Regions from separate parts of the Homo sapiens genome. Here region 1 is linked to region 2. The links are contacts of gene promoters, found by promoter capture Hi-C in human tissues and cell types (Jung and others, 2019). All regions are on one chromosome and are shown on one strand. Each heading gives the region's core, a stretch centred on a gene start or on the middle of the fragment in contact. The rest is flanking DNA. Distances are from core to core; before and after follow the strand shown. Region 1 holds the start of THEM5 (thioesterase superfamily member 5). Region 2 holds the start of MRPL9 (mitochondrial ribosomal protein L9).

What was found. Contacts are between HindIII fragments. The study calls those that stand out against the background at their distance.
Region 1: a contact is called between the fragment with the promoter of THEM5 here and the fragment with the promoter of MRPL9 in region 2, in 1 of the 25 tissues and cell types used here (small bowel).

Annotation. Positions count from the first base shown.
Region 1 is chr1:151,850,472-151,857,813 of GRCh38, forward strand. THEM5 (thioesterase superfamily member 5) reads right to left here and starts at 3,241. Exons shown (of 6, transcript NM_182578.4): 1 at 2,972-3,241; 2 at 1,787-1,988; 3 at 582-720. The coding sequence starts at 3,094. It overlaps C2CD4D-AS1 (C2CD4D and THEM5 antisense RNA 1), which reads left to right. Exons shown (of 4, transcript NR_152846.1): 4 at 1-1,064. The HindIII fragment of the contact is 11,981 bases long and covers 1-7,342 here.
Region 2 is chr1:151,757,615-151,765,128 of GRCh38, forward strand. It overlaps MRPL9 (mitochondrial ribosomal protein L9), which reads right to left and starts at 5,882. Exons shown (of 7, transcript NM_031420.4): 1 at 5,713-5,882; 2 at 5,376-5,532; 3 at 4,762-4,886; 4 at 4,491-4,541; 5 at 3,837-3,938; 6 at 3,202-3,285; 7 at 2,033-2,567. The coding sequence starts at 5,865. The coding sequence ends at 2,436. It also overlaps the pseudogene RPS11P3 and a transcript of OAZ3 not described here. RefSeq lists an enhancer at 5,653-6,032. The HindIII fragment of the contact is 13,976 bases long and covers 1-7,514 here.

The DNA of each region.
Region 1 (7,342 bases), core at 1,991-4,490, 90 kb after region 2:
TGATTGCTGGTGCTGCCTCGGGCAAGTTACTTTAGCTGTGTGCATCTCCATTTCCCCATGGATAGAACATGGGTTTTGGGTAGAAGTGTCTGATAGCTGTACTGTGCTTTACGGTTCATGAGCACGCACACATAGGCCCATAATATCATATCTCTGGTCACCCTGGCAGGTAGATATTATTGCCCCAGGTTTCAGGTAAGAAGACTAAAGACCAGGGGTCAATTGCTTGCTCAGAGTCCCACAGCCAGCAGCAGCCAGGCAGGACACCAAGTCAGAGTCTAGATTCCGGATCTTGCCCTCTTCCAAGTGTACCACATTCTTCTCAAAGTGGCCTCTCAGGTCTTTTGTCCAGAAAATTTTGAGACTTTGATGAGAAGCCCATATCTGCACACTGGGGATTAGGCCAGATAACCCTGTGTGTCCTTCCAGGCCTGGTATTGTGAGGCTGAAGCCTAGTGCCCCACACTCCCTTCCTCACCCCTTAGAGAAAGATAGAGACTCCAGGGCCAGCCTGGTGGGTGCTGAACCTGCCCTGCTGAGCCAAGCCCAGGAGGCAGCCAAGGTCCTACCAGTGACCTTACCCTGGGGGCCCCTCCAGGTAGGAGCCTGGTTGGAAAAGACAGACCGACTTCTTCTGGGTTGGCTGGAAAAAGATGACATACTCAAAGCCTTGTCCTTCCACTTGGATGCACCTGGTGAAGATGCGACAGTCACCTTTGTCTGGGGAGAGATAGGCAGTGTTGCAGCCGGAGAAGGGAGGGTATGGTCAGGATGCAGCACCATTTGGTTGAGTCTTGCCTCTGGTACAAGATTAAGGAGAGAAAACCAGAGGACACCAGGTCCACCCCCAGGGAGCCTTCCCTCTGGGAGCAGAGGCACAGTTGCTGTCCTCACAGAGCCTTTCTGTCTAGGGCAGAAACATGCAGGAAGTGCCCTGGCTGAGAATGGAGATAGGATCAGGGCCAGGGCAAGACTTTAAGAGACCATAAGCATTGAAAATTGAAAATGTAATTACTCATGTAACTCACATATAATTCAAAAGAATAATAGTAAACAGTAAAATAAGAGCAGAAAAGTCCATCAAAGTTCTGATTTTTTTTTTCCAAGACAGCTACCACTACTACATCCTTTTTTGGAAGTATCAAATTCTTTGAAAAAAAATTATGTTGGTATTCCTGCTTTGTTTGTGCCATAAACCCAAGGGTAGTCTGTCCCCTGTACCACTCCTTCATCACTAGGCAGGAAGACAACATATATGAGTGAGAGAGACAGGGAGATACACATGCGTGCACACACGAGTGCACACACACACACAAGAAGGTGGAAGCTCTATCATTAGGATCCATTAGGATCATTAGGTGTTTCAGGAGTGCTGCTCCAGACCCCGCACAGCAGGGATGATGTGCAGGGCCTCAGTGGAAGGGGTGTGGGGTCCAAGGGCTTTCATGGGGTTGGGGCGGAAGGCTTGGGATGAGGCTTGATAGTTAGGGAGGGGCAGTCAGTGAGAAGTCGGGGCAGGAGCTGGGCTGGCTGTCCTCCAGTGGGGACATGCTTGGCTGGGAGCGAAGGTGGGCCCACCAGGGTGTGCTGCTTCAGATGGGAGGAGGGGAGCTGGAGACCTGAGAGGACACCCGCCGCCTGTTGCCTGGGGCTGCAGCATCAGGGGTGGAGTTGGACAGCAGGAAGAACTCGCTGAGAACTGGAAGGCGGTCTGTGAAGTTGCTTCTCAGTCTTAGAACACAGGGAAGGGCGGCTGGGGTGTGTGTACTCATGGTCCTGTCCTTACCTGAGGAAACTGCCAGTCCAGATGGGAGCTTGAGTCCCCGGATGTGGTCTCTGTTGGACTTGAAGGAGGGCAGCTTGATCCAGCCGCTAGACTTAGTCTTCTCCAGAAATTCTTGGTACAGGCTCAGCATGTCCGAACACCAGCTGGCATTGGGAAGAGCATAATCCTTCAAGTCTGTCTTCTCTGGCAAGAATCTTGAGAACTGGGCAGGAAAAATCAGAATGACTAGACAGCATCCTGGAGGGGGGCTGCTGCCTGGGCTCGGGACCTCTAAACAGCTGTTCCTGGGTGCTGGGGCTTCTCAATCCCTTCTGCCAGAGTATCGATCCAAGGGAAAGGGCCCATATTCCTTGCAGGGGGGCTGCGGACCCCTATGGGTGACGGGGCATAAGGATGCTAAAGAGCAAGGGAAGGGCGGGCAGGGAGTGGGGCCAGAGATGATGGGCATGCTGCTCGATGTGGTGCCTTACCCTTGTTCTGCTTAAAACATGTGAGCAGTTCTTTAAAGTTGACAACTGCTCATATTAGCCTCACTGTACAGATGGGGAAACTGAGGGAATACGGCCAAGGTTGCCAAGCATGTGACTGTGAGAGCTGGTGGTCGCACTAGATGCTGTCTCCTCTGCAGGGCAGGGTCACAGTTGTTGAGGACCATTCTAGCAACCCCCACCTCAGGGGCTACTCCAGCTCTGCCCACTGCTGTGGGCCTGCCTGGGCAGGGTGGCTCCTTTGAAACACATTTGGGCCCCCACAGAGGTGTGGTGCCATGGCTGGGGCACAGACTATGTGCCCATCTGTGTGACGTAAGGAAGTCCTCTGTAGCGTCACCTGCTCATACACCAGTCACAACTGTAGACAGCATGTGAGCTGCTTGCCAATGCCACAGATGGGGTCCTCTGTCTGGGGATACCCCAGCTTTGCTGCAGTAGTCTGAGTCCCACAGGAGGAAAGTCATTTGTTGGTGGCCACACAAGACACAGAGCCAGATGCAGGTCTCCTGGTAGTTTTAGTTTTGAATGGGGGCAACTTGGTATCCCAGAGCACTTTCTCTTTGCCAAATCAAATAGCTCCTCCGAACACTGCCCACCTGCCCTGGCCATGGGCTGGGAAGAGGAGATTTGGGGTGCTCCTTAAGCCCTAGGCTCCTGGGAAAACACTGCCCATCTGGCTGAGCTGGGAACTCACCATGGAGTCTGTGGAGGATCCAAATGCTGAGGCAGGGTTGAGTCTGGGCAGGATACGGGGGGCCTCAAGAAGGCCTCTGTGGTGGCCAAGTCTTGCTGCCACCTGGAAGCATCTCCTTATCATGGCCAAGTGCAAGGATCCAGCCCTGCTTGGATGGAGGGTCTTGGCTGACTCCCAAGGAGTGCTTTCAGCTGCACTTGGGGCCGCTTCTCTCCCTTCTGTTGCAGGCTTTCTTTCAGAGAGCTAGGCGAGGCTGGGCTGGTGTGCTGCAACACCCACAGATGCTCGGCGCCTTTAGCTGGTCTAGGAGCCCCACCCAGTGCTTGGGGAGGGACAGATGCTGCTTGGGCATGAAAAGGCAGCAGGACTGGCTTGAGTTGCAAAAGGAGTAAACAAGTACATAAACAAATAGTATGGGGTATATAGAGCCTTGGAGAGCTGCCTGGGGGTTCTGAGGGAGAATCCAAGAATATTTCCAGAAGGATAAGGGAAGCCTGTCCCTTGATTGGAGGGTGCTGGTGGAGTGTTCTTGGTATGTGCTCTGCAGTGTATACCGGACTCTGAAAACTCTGGTATGATTTTGTGACTCAGAAAACCAACTCACAGGCCGGGTGCGGTGGCTCACGCCTGTAATCCCAGCACTTTGGGAGGCCGAGGCGGCGGATTACGAGGTTAGGAGATCGAGACCATCCTGGCTAACACGGTGAAACCCCGTCTCTACTAAAAAAAATACAAAAAATTAGCCGGGCGTGGTGGCGGGTGCCGGTAGTCCCAGCTACGCAGGGGGCTGAGGCAGGAGAATGGCGTGAACCTGGGAGGTGGAGCTTGCAGTGAGCTGAGATCTAGCCACCGCACTCCAGCCTGGGCGACTGAGCGAGACTCCGTCTCAAAAAAATAAAAATAAAAAAATAAAAAAAAAGAAAACCAACTCACAGCCTTAGACACCTCTTTTTTTTTTTTTTTTTTTTTTTTGGTGAGACGGAGTTTCAATCTTGTCGCCCAGGCTGGTGTGCAATGGCGTGATCTCGGCTCACTGCAACCTCCGCCTCCTGGGTTCAAGTGATTCTCCTGCCTCAGCCTCCTGAGTAGCTGGGATTACAGACACACACCACCACACCCAGCTAAATTTTGTATATTTTTTTTAGTAGAGATGGGGTTTTGCCATGTTAGCCAGGCTGGTCTTGAACTCCTGACCTCAGGTGACCTCCCAAAGTGCTGGGATTACAGGCGTGAGCCACCGCACCCGGCCAACACCTCTTCTTATATCCCGGACAAGGGTTAGCACAGGAGAGTTTCACCTGCTGGTCTCTGGCTGGGGATAGGAGTTGGAGGTGGGGGAGGGCTTGACAGGGAGGGCAGAAAATAATTTGGGAGGAAACAGCTTGGCAGGGATACTCTCATGTTTTGGGAACCCCGTGCCCAGGGAGTGGCTCATGTCAGCAGGCAGTGCTGGGAGTGAGGTGGGCGCGGCAGTGAGGCTTTGTTGAGTGGGAAGGGACACTCAGCCAACATCTGCAAGGCAGTGGGATTTGGTGGTGGTGTGTCTTCTATTGAATTTAAACTGCCAATTTTCAATTAAAAGTCTCAGTTTTAAATTGACTAAAATAAAAGCATGTTCTAAAGATCAGTCCTCGCGCAGTGGCTCAAGGCTGTAATCTCAGCATTTTGGGAGGCCGAGTGAGACCTTGTCTTAAAAAAAAAAAAATCAGAACTGTGCAAAGGTGGAATCATAACAGTGATGATGACGATAATAATAGTTGTGATGATTATGACATTTTGGCAGGTTCCAAAAGATGAAACTGATTTAATGCGGAAATTTAAAAGATTTGGTTCACCCTCTGTATTTGGTTGCCCTAGAAGAAGACTAGAATATAAATATTTCCCCTCACCTCCTGCAAAGGTTTGAATTAAACTTCCTCAAGGACTGGGGGAACCATTTTTTTTTGTTGTTGTTATTTTGTCAGAGTCTCACTCTTATTGCCCAGGAGTGCAGTGGCACCATCTCGGCTCACTGCAACCTCTGCCTCCCAGGCTCAAGCAATTCTCCTGCCTCAGCCTCCCAAGTAGCTGGGATTACAGGCGCTTGCTACTACGCCCGGCTAGTTTTTATATTTTTAGTAGAGACGGGGTTTCATCATGTTGGCCAGGCTGGTCTCAAACTCCTGGCCTTGGCTGATCTGCCTGCCTCAGCGTCCCAAAGTGCTGGGATTACAGGCATGAGGCACCACGCCCAGCTGGAAGTTTTTTTGGTTGATTCAGCCTCTGGGTCTAAGCAAAGATATTTGAGTTGGTTGCCATCCCCAGATAAGTGAGAATATCTGGCAGCACTCATTTTCAGCCCTGGGCCGCAGCCGTTGCTGTGAGGCAGAAATTAAAAAAAGATAGTAAGTACTACATTCATTCACTCCAAGAAAAGTAACAGACAAGGCTATAAGAAGGTCATAGTGACCTAGTCTGAGAAGTAAAAGCCAAGGCCCAGAATGTGGCAAGGCAAAGGTTAAAAAGAAAGGAAGAGCAAGTTTTTCTCTGCCTAGCAAGCTCACTTCAAAGACAATTATAAGATAATGCTCTTCGAGAAGTCGAAACCAAAGGAATAGGCTCCAGACATCCCCCGTCTGGAGCAAGGGTGAAGGAAAAAAAAAAAAGGACAAATGTCTGTCTGTATTTAGCCAGTTCTTGTTTTTTCTTTCCACGCAGCTACAAGGCCACCAGCTATGCAAAGCCACAAGTTATGCCAAGTCATCAGTTATGCTATAGATTATGTGACCTGTCATTATATGATTAACTGCCTGTTTTGCTTCTGTAAGCCTGCTTATAAAAATCCTGCTCAGTCTTTGTTCAATGCTCAGCTTTTTGGATGTGAATCCACTGAGCCAATGCCTACCTTAAAATAAACATCGTCCTGTTTTTCCATATCTGTCTCTCTGGTCCTGAGTTTACCACAATAGCTGTAGCTGGTACCCTGTGCCTGTGGCTTGCCCAGGCGTCCCCTGGCACTTGGCATCCCTTCATTCCCTGGGTCCATCCTTGATCTGGAAGGATGGACTTGAGAAGACAGGATAGAAAAGAAAAATCCTAGGAAGGATAGGTGAACTGGAGAGAAGTCAGAGGAAAGGTGAGTGGGGAGCAAGAGGGGATCCTCAGGCGGCCCTGACAGCTGGAAGCTGGTTCCAGCAAGGTGGCCCCAGGAGGAAAGAGCTGTCCTCCTAAGAAGAGTCAGTAGGGCCAGGCGCGGTGGCTCACGCCTATAATCCCAGCACTTTGGGAGGCCAAGGCGGGTGGATCACCTGAGGTTGGGAGATCAAGACTAGCCTGACCAACATGGAGAAACCTCATCTCTACTAAAAATACAGAATTAGCCGGGCATGGTGGCGCATGCCTGTAATCCTAGCTACTTGGGAGGCTGAGGCAGGAGAATCGTTTGAAGCCAGGAGGCGGATATTGTGGTGAGCTGAGATTGCGCCATTGCACTCCAGCCTGGGCAGCAAGAGTGAAACTCTGTCTCAGAAAATATAAAGAGTCAGTAGGTGGCTGGGTGCAGTGGCTCATGCCTGTAAGTCCAGCACTTTGGGAGGCTGAGGTGGGAGGATCGCTTGAGCCCAGGAGTTCGAGACCAGCCTGGACAACATAGTGAGACCCCGACTCTACAAAAAAGAAAAAAAATTAGCTGGGTGTGGTGGTGTGTGCCTGCGGTCCCAGCTACTCAGGAGGCTGAGGCAGGAGGATCGCTTTAGCCCAGGAGTTTGAGGCTATAGTGAGCCCAGATTGTGCCACTGCACTGCAGCCTAGGTGACAGAGTGAGACCCTGTCTCAATTAAAAGAAGAAAAAAAGTTGGTAGGTGCACCTGAGAAAGGAAATTGCTGTTTCATGGGCTGAGTGCCACTTGGGAGCTGGGTTGTCACCCAGCGATTTTCCCATGGTGATCCCAGTGGGGTCTGAATCTCTTGTTGCCTCCTATGTTGGTTGTTTGACGATTTTTGGTTAAATCAACTTTCAAATATTTACATAATTATGATTATGTAACTTTTGCTCTCAGCCTTGCCACATACTACAGTTACATTTGTTTCCTGTATCACTTTATTTTCTTGAGTGGATAATTACCAAGGTTCAGCTGGATGATGTGGTCCAGAGGAAAACAGGGGAAGGGAAGGAGCTGACAACTGGTCGAGGTCAACTTTCACTTCTCTGCTAGGAGGGAAGAGCATCCAGGAGGGAGAAAATAAGAGAGACGAGGCTCTGGCGCTGTCTGTGATACTGCAGAGCAGCTCTAGTTGGATCAAGGGCATGACAGATGGAAAGAATTAGGATATCTGAGAAGAACATCCATAACTGATGGTACAACCATGGATGTGGCCCCCAATTAGGCTGGC
Region 2 (7,514 bases), core at 4,632-7,131:
ACTGGGGTCTCTGCAAGTTAATGGAGGCTCAAACCTTTCAGGAAGTTCTGTTAAATCCAAGACTGAGTGTACCTACCAAAAGCAGTCAACCATCTTTCAAAACAAGAGGGTCCTGCTGGGAGATACTGGCAATGAGAAGTTCCTATAGGACCATAAGATCAGTCTGGGGCTGGGTGCAGTGGCTCATGCCTGTAATCCTAGCACTTTGGAAGGCCGAGGCGGGTGGATCACCTGAGGTCAGGAGTTCAACACCAGCCTGGCCAACATGGTGAGACCCCGTCTCTACTAAAAATACACAAAAAATTAGCCGGGCGTGGTGGTGGGCTCCTGTAATCCCAGCTATTTGGGAGGCTGAGGCAGGAGAATCGCTTGAACCCGGGAGGTAGAGATTACAGTGAGCCAAGATCGTGCCATTGCACTCCAGCCTGGGCAACAAGAGCGAAACTCCATCTCAAAAAAAAAAAAAAAAAAAAAAAAAATCAGTTTGGGCTTCAATATGCCCAAATAGGCTATGAGGGCACCTATATTTACACTGATTGCCCTTTATTGGTAACATCTCCATCTGAGGGTGGATCCTGTCTGGCATGGTGACCAAGATAAAAGATGCAAAAGATCAACATCATCCACCAAGACTATTTCCACTACATGTGTAAGTACAGTTGCTTCAAGAAGCACAAGAACATGTTCATGCACCCATCCCCTTGCATCAGGGATGTCCAGATCAGCAACATCATCATGGTTGGGTAAGCACCAGCATGAGCAAGATGGTACACTTCAACATGCTCATGGTCCCCAATGCCACCAAGAAGCAATTCCAGTTCTGAGTCTGGATGCCTGCCTACTCCCTAATGTGAAATAATGTTATTTTCCCATTCAAAAAAAAAAAAAAAAAAGAAAAGAAAAGGGTGGGGAGGGGAGAAATGCTAAATTTCAGATAGTGCCAGTGCCACACTTGAGTTACAGAGCTCTGTCAAGTATGAAGTTGGCTATAGTTATCAGTGCAACTACTGATGACAGACTTTCTCATTAGCTGAGATGGGATGAAAGTGTTTAACTGACTCAGAGTGGTAGGTGAGCTCAAATAGGAAAGAAACCAATGTCTGGTATGGATAGCAAAGGAGTCAATGATCCCATCTTTACTACCCTAAACTGCATGACCTCACATTGTATTTGAGTGACCTTGGCACAATCCACCTGAAAATGAATGTTTTTTTCTACTAATGAAACTCTGAACTTACAGAAAACTATCTACTTTCAGGCCAGGCATGGTGGCTCATGCCTGCCTGTAATCCCAGCACTTTGGGAGGCCGAGGAGGGTGGATCATGAGGTCAGGAGTTTGAGACCATCCTGGTCAATATGGTGAAACCCCATCTCTACTAAAAATATAAAAAATTAGCCGGGTGCTGTGGCACATGCCTGTAGTCCCAGCTACTCGGGAGGCTGAGGCAGGAGAATCACTTGAACCAGGGAGGCGGAGGTGCAGTGAGCTGAGATTATGCCACTGCACTCCAGCCTGGGTGACAGAGCAAGACTCTGTCTCAAAAAAAAAAAAAAAAAAGAAAAAGAAAAAGGAAAAAACTATCTACTTTCGTTTATCTCCCATCAAGACATCCATTCATCCATTCCAGAGTTACCTTTTGACTAGCTCCCTATCTTAATCTTGGTCTAGAAAATTAAGGTAACTTCTTTTTCAGAATTTCAGGAGCTGGTTCAAGGAAAAAAGTTCCCTTTTTAAGCTTCTTTCATCCCAGCTTTCCAACAATTACCCTTAGGCCTTACTCAGGTCTTAGAGAAGCAGAATCCATTGTGCTTATTCACATTGATGACTACATCAATGTATCTAAGAAGAGTAAGTGTTAAGACCAAACACATCATCAACTTGTTCAGCACAATTTGTTCATACCACAGTAACTGTGGGATGCAGTCTAAGATATTCTCTTCTTTCCTTTTTAGCAGCAAACCTCTGTGACTCAAGGAAATCTCAGTTGGATGTCCTGTCTCATCTACTCAAGACCAGTAAGCAACACTTACTTAAAAAGAACATATTCTCTTTATTTCTGCTTGGGATACAAATGTTCAGTTTGGATGATGAGAATGAGGCAAGTACTGGAGACAATGGCTGGCTCTCCTGTTTGTCCCAATAAACTCCAATGGAGGAAGAAGCTAAACAGGTTTTGGATGGTTTCGGTCTACTGCATCTAGCTTATCAAATCTACAGCCTGGTACTTCTGGAACAGGACTTCCCTGCCCCAGTGATGACAGTTAAAGATGGCAAAAATGAAGAATTCAACATGTATACGCAGTGCAGTCTGATGTCTTCAGATGTTCTCTAAAATTCTGTATTTGGTCAGAGCTGGGAGTGAGATCAGGGTGCTTGCACATTTCTGCTCCACTGCTCCCGATTCTGCTTTGCTGCCTTGGAGGGAGAGTAGATTTAGATCTGGGGGCTGGTGGGGGCCATAGCCTTGGCAGCTTGCTGGGCTAACCAGTACTTATATCTTTTGGTCTTGGGCTTCTCAAAGTTCACGACAGACATAGGCACTCTCACAGTATCAAGCCCATTTACCTGCACACAAAACAATGGGAATTCTCAGAGATCAGTCAGGTAAGTAAGATTTAGCACCACCTAATCCCAGCTTTTCACCCTGACTTTTCTCCCAGTCAGAAAAAGGAGAGCTAGGGCTGGGCACAGTGGCTTATGCCTGTAATCCCAGCACTTTGGGAGGCTGAGGCAGGTGGATCACCTGAGGTCAGGAGTTTGAGACCAGCCTGGCCAACATGGGGAAACCCTGTCTCTACTAAAATACAAAAATTAGCCAGGCACGGTGGCGTGTGCCTGTAATCCCAGCTACTAGGGGGACTGAGGCAGAAGGATCGCTTGAACCTGGGAGGTGGAGGTTGCAGTGAGCTGAGATCGTGCCACTGCACTCCAGTCTGGGCAACAGAGTGAGACTCCAGCTCAAAAAAAAAAAAAAAAAAAAAAAAATTAGAAAAAAGGGAGAGGTAGGTGCTAGGTGCGGTGGCTAACGCCTGTAGTCCTAGCTACTTGGGAGGCTGAGGTGGGAGGATCGCTTGAACCCAGGAGTTTGAATCCAGCCTGGGCAATGAAACAAAACCCTGTCTTTAAGAGAAAGGAAAAAAAGGAAAAAGTGGGGGAAAAGGAGAAAGAAAAGAAAAAAGAAAGTATGCAAAACACTCACCGTCACCTCACACCAATACTCGCCCCACCGTGTGATAGGCTCTTCTGGTAACTTTAATGTATGTGGGGCAACCACAACACCAAGCTGCAAAAAAAAAAAAAAAAAAAAAAATCTCAGCTCAAATGAACTCTGTTTTCATGACTGCCACTCTAGGGAACCTCATAAAGAGGGTTACAGGATTCCCTGCACAGGGATGAATAAAACTGGGGTGTCTACTCTGGCTGATTCCATGGGAGAGAAGGGCATACACCTTCATAGACGGTAGTAGAGAAATTCAATTCTGATTTCTCAGAAAGGGAGGTAGATTCACAAAGAGAAACAGGGCTTGAGGCCAAAACCACTTCATCCACAAAAGTAACAATTCTCCAGTGAGTCACAAATCCCCAGCATTTCCCTAGGTAGACAGGAAATAAATGGAAACCACCACCTTTTCCTATCAGTCTTCAAATTCTATGTGACCATCCTTAGTCCTTAGCCATTTCCTTCCCATATTCCTGCAAACTAACCAAGAATACTTTCCTTAACTACAACTGGATGATCACACCCCTTCCTAACAAAGGGATCAATCCCAGGCCTCCTTTCCAGAGGCAGCTTCCACCTCAGGGGTAGAGTGGTTTTTGGGAACACTCACTCACATTCTTAAAGAAGTGGCGGGCAACTATTTCAGGGTTCAGCTCCCATTTGACATTGTTCTTCATCCCTACCTCCAGGCGACAGCTTTTTAGAAATTTCACTGTCTGAAAGGAATTATGAGTTTGAGTCAAAGGAGAGGAAACATGTCAGGGTCACAGGGTATGCAAGCCAAGCAAGATGGCTCATGCCTGTAATCCCAGCACTTTGGGAGGCCAAGGTGGGTCTCCCAAAGTGGGTCACTTCAGCCCAGGAGTTTGAAACCAGCCTGGCCAACATGGCGAAACCCTGTCTCTACCAAAAATACAACAGTTAGCCGGGCATGGTGGCGGGTGCCTGTACTGATTATCTTCTCATGTGTCCATGTTCTCTCCAACTTGTACGTAAATATCCTTGAAGGCAGAGCCCTCATCTCAGACTATTCCATGGGTTCCCTGATTCCCAGATTGGGACCTCCCTTGGTACTTTAAGGCACTTCACCCAACACATCAGGGATCTCCCAAGAGGTCTCCATACCTGTTTTGTGGGGCAGCCACAACACTTCCCCTTTCTCCCACTCTTGGGTCTGCAATCAGGAGACCTCAAGGGAATCAGGGAGACTCTCAGGGTGAGGTTGGTAAGTCTTGTGACAAATAAACACTTTTTATGTTTCTACTCACCGCCTCACCTGCCTTGGTCTGGATCTTCTCTAATTTTCCTTCTTGTCTCAGCTAGAAAAGAAAGTTAAAGATGAAAAGCAGTAAAAGAAAAATGAGCCCATGTTAAATAGCATCAAACTATTCCTATGTTGGACATTGGCTGGGCTTCTGCATTCCTGTTCTTCTAGTTCCTATTTCATTTTCAAGTTAAGTTAAATGTCAAAGGGAAGGAAGCTGCAAGAGAAAAGAAGTTTTATCTCCCCAAGTCTCTCTGTCCTTCCTTTGAGCTCACCAATTTCTCCTCTTCAAACAGCTTCTTGTTTTCAGGGGATGCATATACAGCCAGTCCCTGAGGAAGGAGTCGATTCCGGCCTAAAGATTTCTTCACTGAGACCAGGTCACCCCGGACTCCAACATCTGTCAATTAGAACAGAGACAGGGGAATTAGAACCATCTAGGAGTCCCTAAAGAAAAGATGTCAAAAAGAGAAGCACCTCTTAGTTTCTCACAGTGCTTATTTTTCCTAAAAGAAATGCTAATTCATATTCACTAGGAACAAGATTTAAGAGACTGCTAATTAGTTTCTTTAGAACTTGATGTATAAATTTAATATCCCCTGTATAGAGGGAGTTGTCGTCCCATGGAGGATTTCAGTATCTGTGGCACAAATTGTCAGGCTCCTCTCCCCACACACTGTTAATGATGTTGCTGCCTTTATGTTTTAATTTTCAATGCTGGAGGCCAGTGTCACAATCACAATAGTTTTTATGGCTTCCTCTTCTCACATATAGAGTTGGATTGTTTCCACAAAGAAAAAGCAAGGCAAATAGTTGAGGGGGACGGGCTAGAAAAAGCTGATGCCAAACCGGACCAGCCTGAGAGGAAGCGCCTCGGCCCGGGCCTTACTCTCCACCGACTGCGTCAGGATGAGCTCCAGGTTTTCTTTGGGCCGATGCTTCGTGTCCTCCACCAGCTTATAGACGCGATGTCGCCGGTGCAGGCGCGGCTTCCGGCCCTCCCCGGCCAGCGGTACCTTCCACCAGCGCTCCACGATGACCGTGCCCTGGCGGCCAGGAAAGCGACGGTAAGCTAGTCTCCACAAGGAACACCCTCTCCCTCCACCACGGCCGCCAGCCCCTCAAGGAAAGCCCGCCACCCCCACATCGGCCCCCTCCAGGTCCCAGTGCGCCTCCAGAAACAATACTCGAGCGTATCTACCCCCTACCCCAGACTCAGCCCTCACCCGATTTTGAGAAAGGCTGAAGTTGCAGGCCAGGTCAGGGGCGTTCCCTTCATGTCGCGGCCGCAGTAGCTCCTGGACGCCTCCCCGAAGCAGCCGTCCAGCGCCCGCCCGCAGCAGAGCTCTGCCCGGGGCCGTGACAACGGGCGCCGCCATGTTCACAGGCACAGAATGAGACCTGAGGGAGGACCCCGGCGTCGGCGGCAGGAAAGGCCCCCGCCAGTGCTGCCTGCGGCGCGCCGGTACGGCTGAGCGAAAGTATGGGGAGCGGGCCGGGGAACAGATGGCACCGCGGCTTGCCTATTTTTGCTTTTTGGCAGAGGTGACGGACGCCTAGAATTACTGACTGATAATGGAATGAGTGTTAGGTGGACTGACGCCGGAAAAGACGCTCTTCCTCTTGAAAGTGTGGGCTTTGCTGTAGCTCCAGTTGCTGGGCTAACTTTTAATTCTAACGTTCTGTGATGACTGGATACTGACCGGAGAATGAATGATGCTCTCACTTTTCCTTACTTCAAATCTACCTAAAAGTGGTAAAGGATGGGATCCCTTGGAAAACTCTGCCAGCTCCAGGAGGAGCCTGACCCTTAATCATTATACTGCAGTATTTAAGCTAATAAAGGAGAATTCTAAATCACAAGCTATGTAAACCGTAGAAAAAAAAGCAACTATGGTAAGGCCGCGACAGTTCCCTCTGGGGAGGGTCTCAGTACTGGACAGAAGACCATAAAAACTGGATGAAAGAAGGTCCATTTGGCAGAGATTATGGAAAGACTGGCCCTTAAACATACTGACCAGTCCTCCTTCCTCCTAAATACACTACTTGGCCTCCTGGACACCGGTCTTCTTCAGTCTCGTTTGCTGATTTCTCCTTTTCTCCCCGCTTCTTAGAATGCCCTCGGGACTCCGTTTTTGAACCTTTACTCTTCTCAGTATACACTCACTGTTGATCTCATCCAGTCTCGTGGCTTACAATACCATTTATAAGCCAATGACTCCCAAATTTCTAGTTCCATCCTAGACATCTCCCAAACTCGTCTCAAATATTCAACTGTTTATTCGTCATTTTCCTCTTACGTATCCAAAGGACACCTCAAAGTTAACTGTCCCAAACTAATTTATTTATTCCCCCCTCGCCCCCAAAACTGCCCCATCTGCAGCCTTTTTCCTCTCAGTTGACAGAAACTCCATTCTTTCCATTCTAACTCTTTTCTCTCATACTCCATCAGGAAATCCTGTGGGTTCTACCTTTAAATTACAGATAGTCCCTGACTTGGATTTACAATTTTTGAGTTTGTGATGGTGTGAAAGTGATGTGCACTCAGTAGGACATCAATAAGTTACATGAAATATTCAACACTTTATTATAAAATAGGCTTTGTGTTAGATGATTTTACCCAACTGTCGGATAAGTTGTCTGAGCATGTTTAAGATAGGCTAGGCTAAGCTATGGTGTTTGGTAGGTGTATTATATGCATTTTCAACTTATGATACTTTCAACATACGATGGGTTTATCAGGACATAACCCTATTTTAAGTCAAGGAGCACTTGTATTTCCAGAATCCAGCCACTTGTCACCACCTCCAATGCTCTACCTTGGAATAAGACACTACTTTCTCCTGGATTACTGCAATAGTCCCCTAAAAGATATCCCTTAATTCTCTACAGTTTATAATTCTATGTAGCTTATTTATAGCAGCCAGAATGATCTTTTTAAAGCATAAGTCAGATCATGTCATTCTTCCACCCAAAACTTTGTAATGACTTCCTCCTTTACTCAAGGTAAAAGAAAAAGGCCATCAGA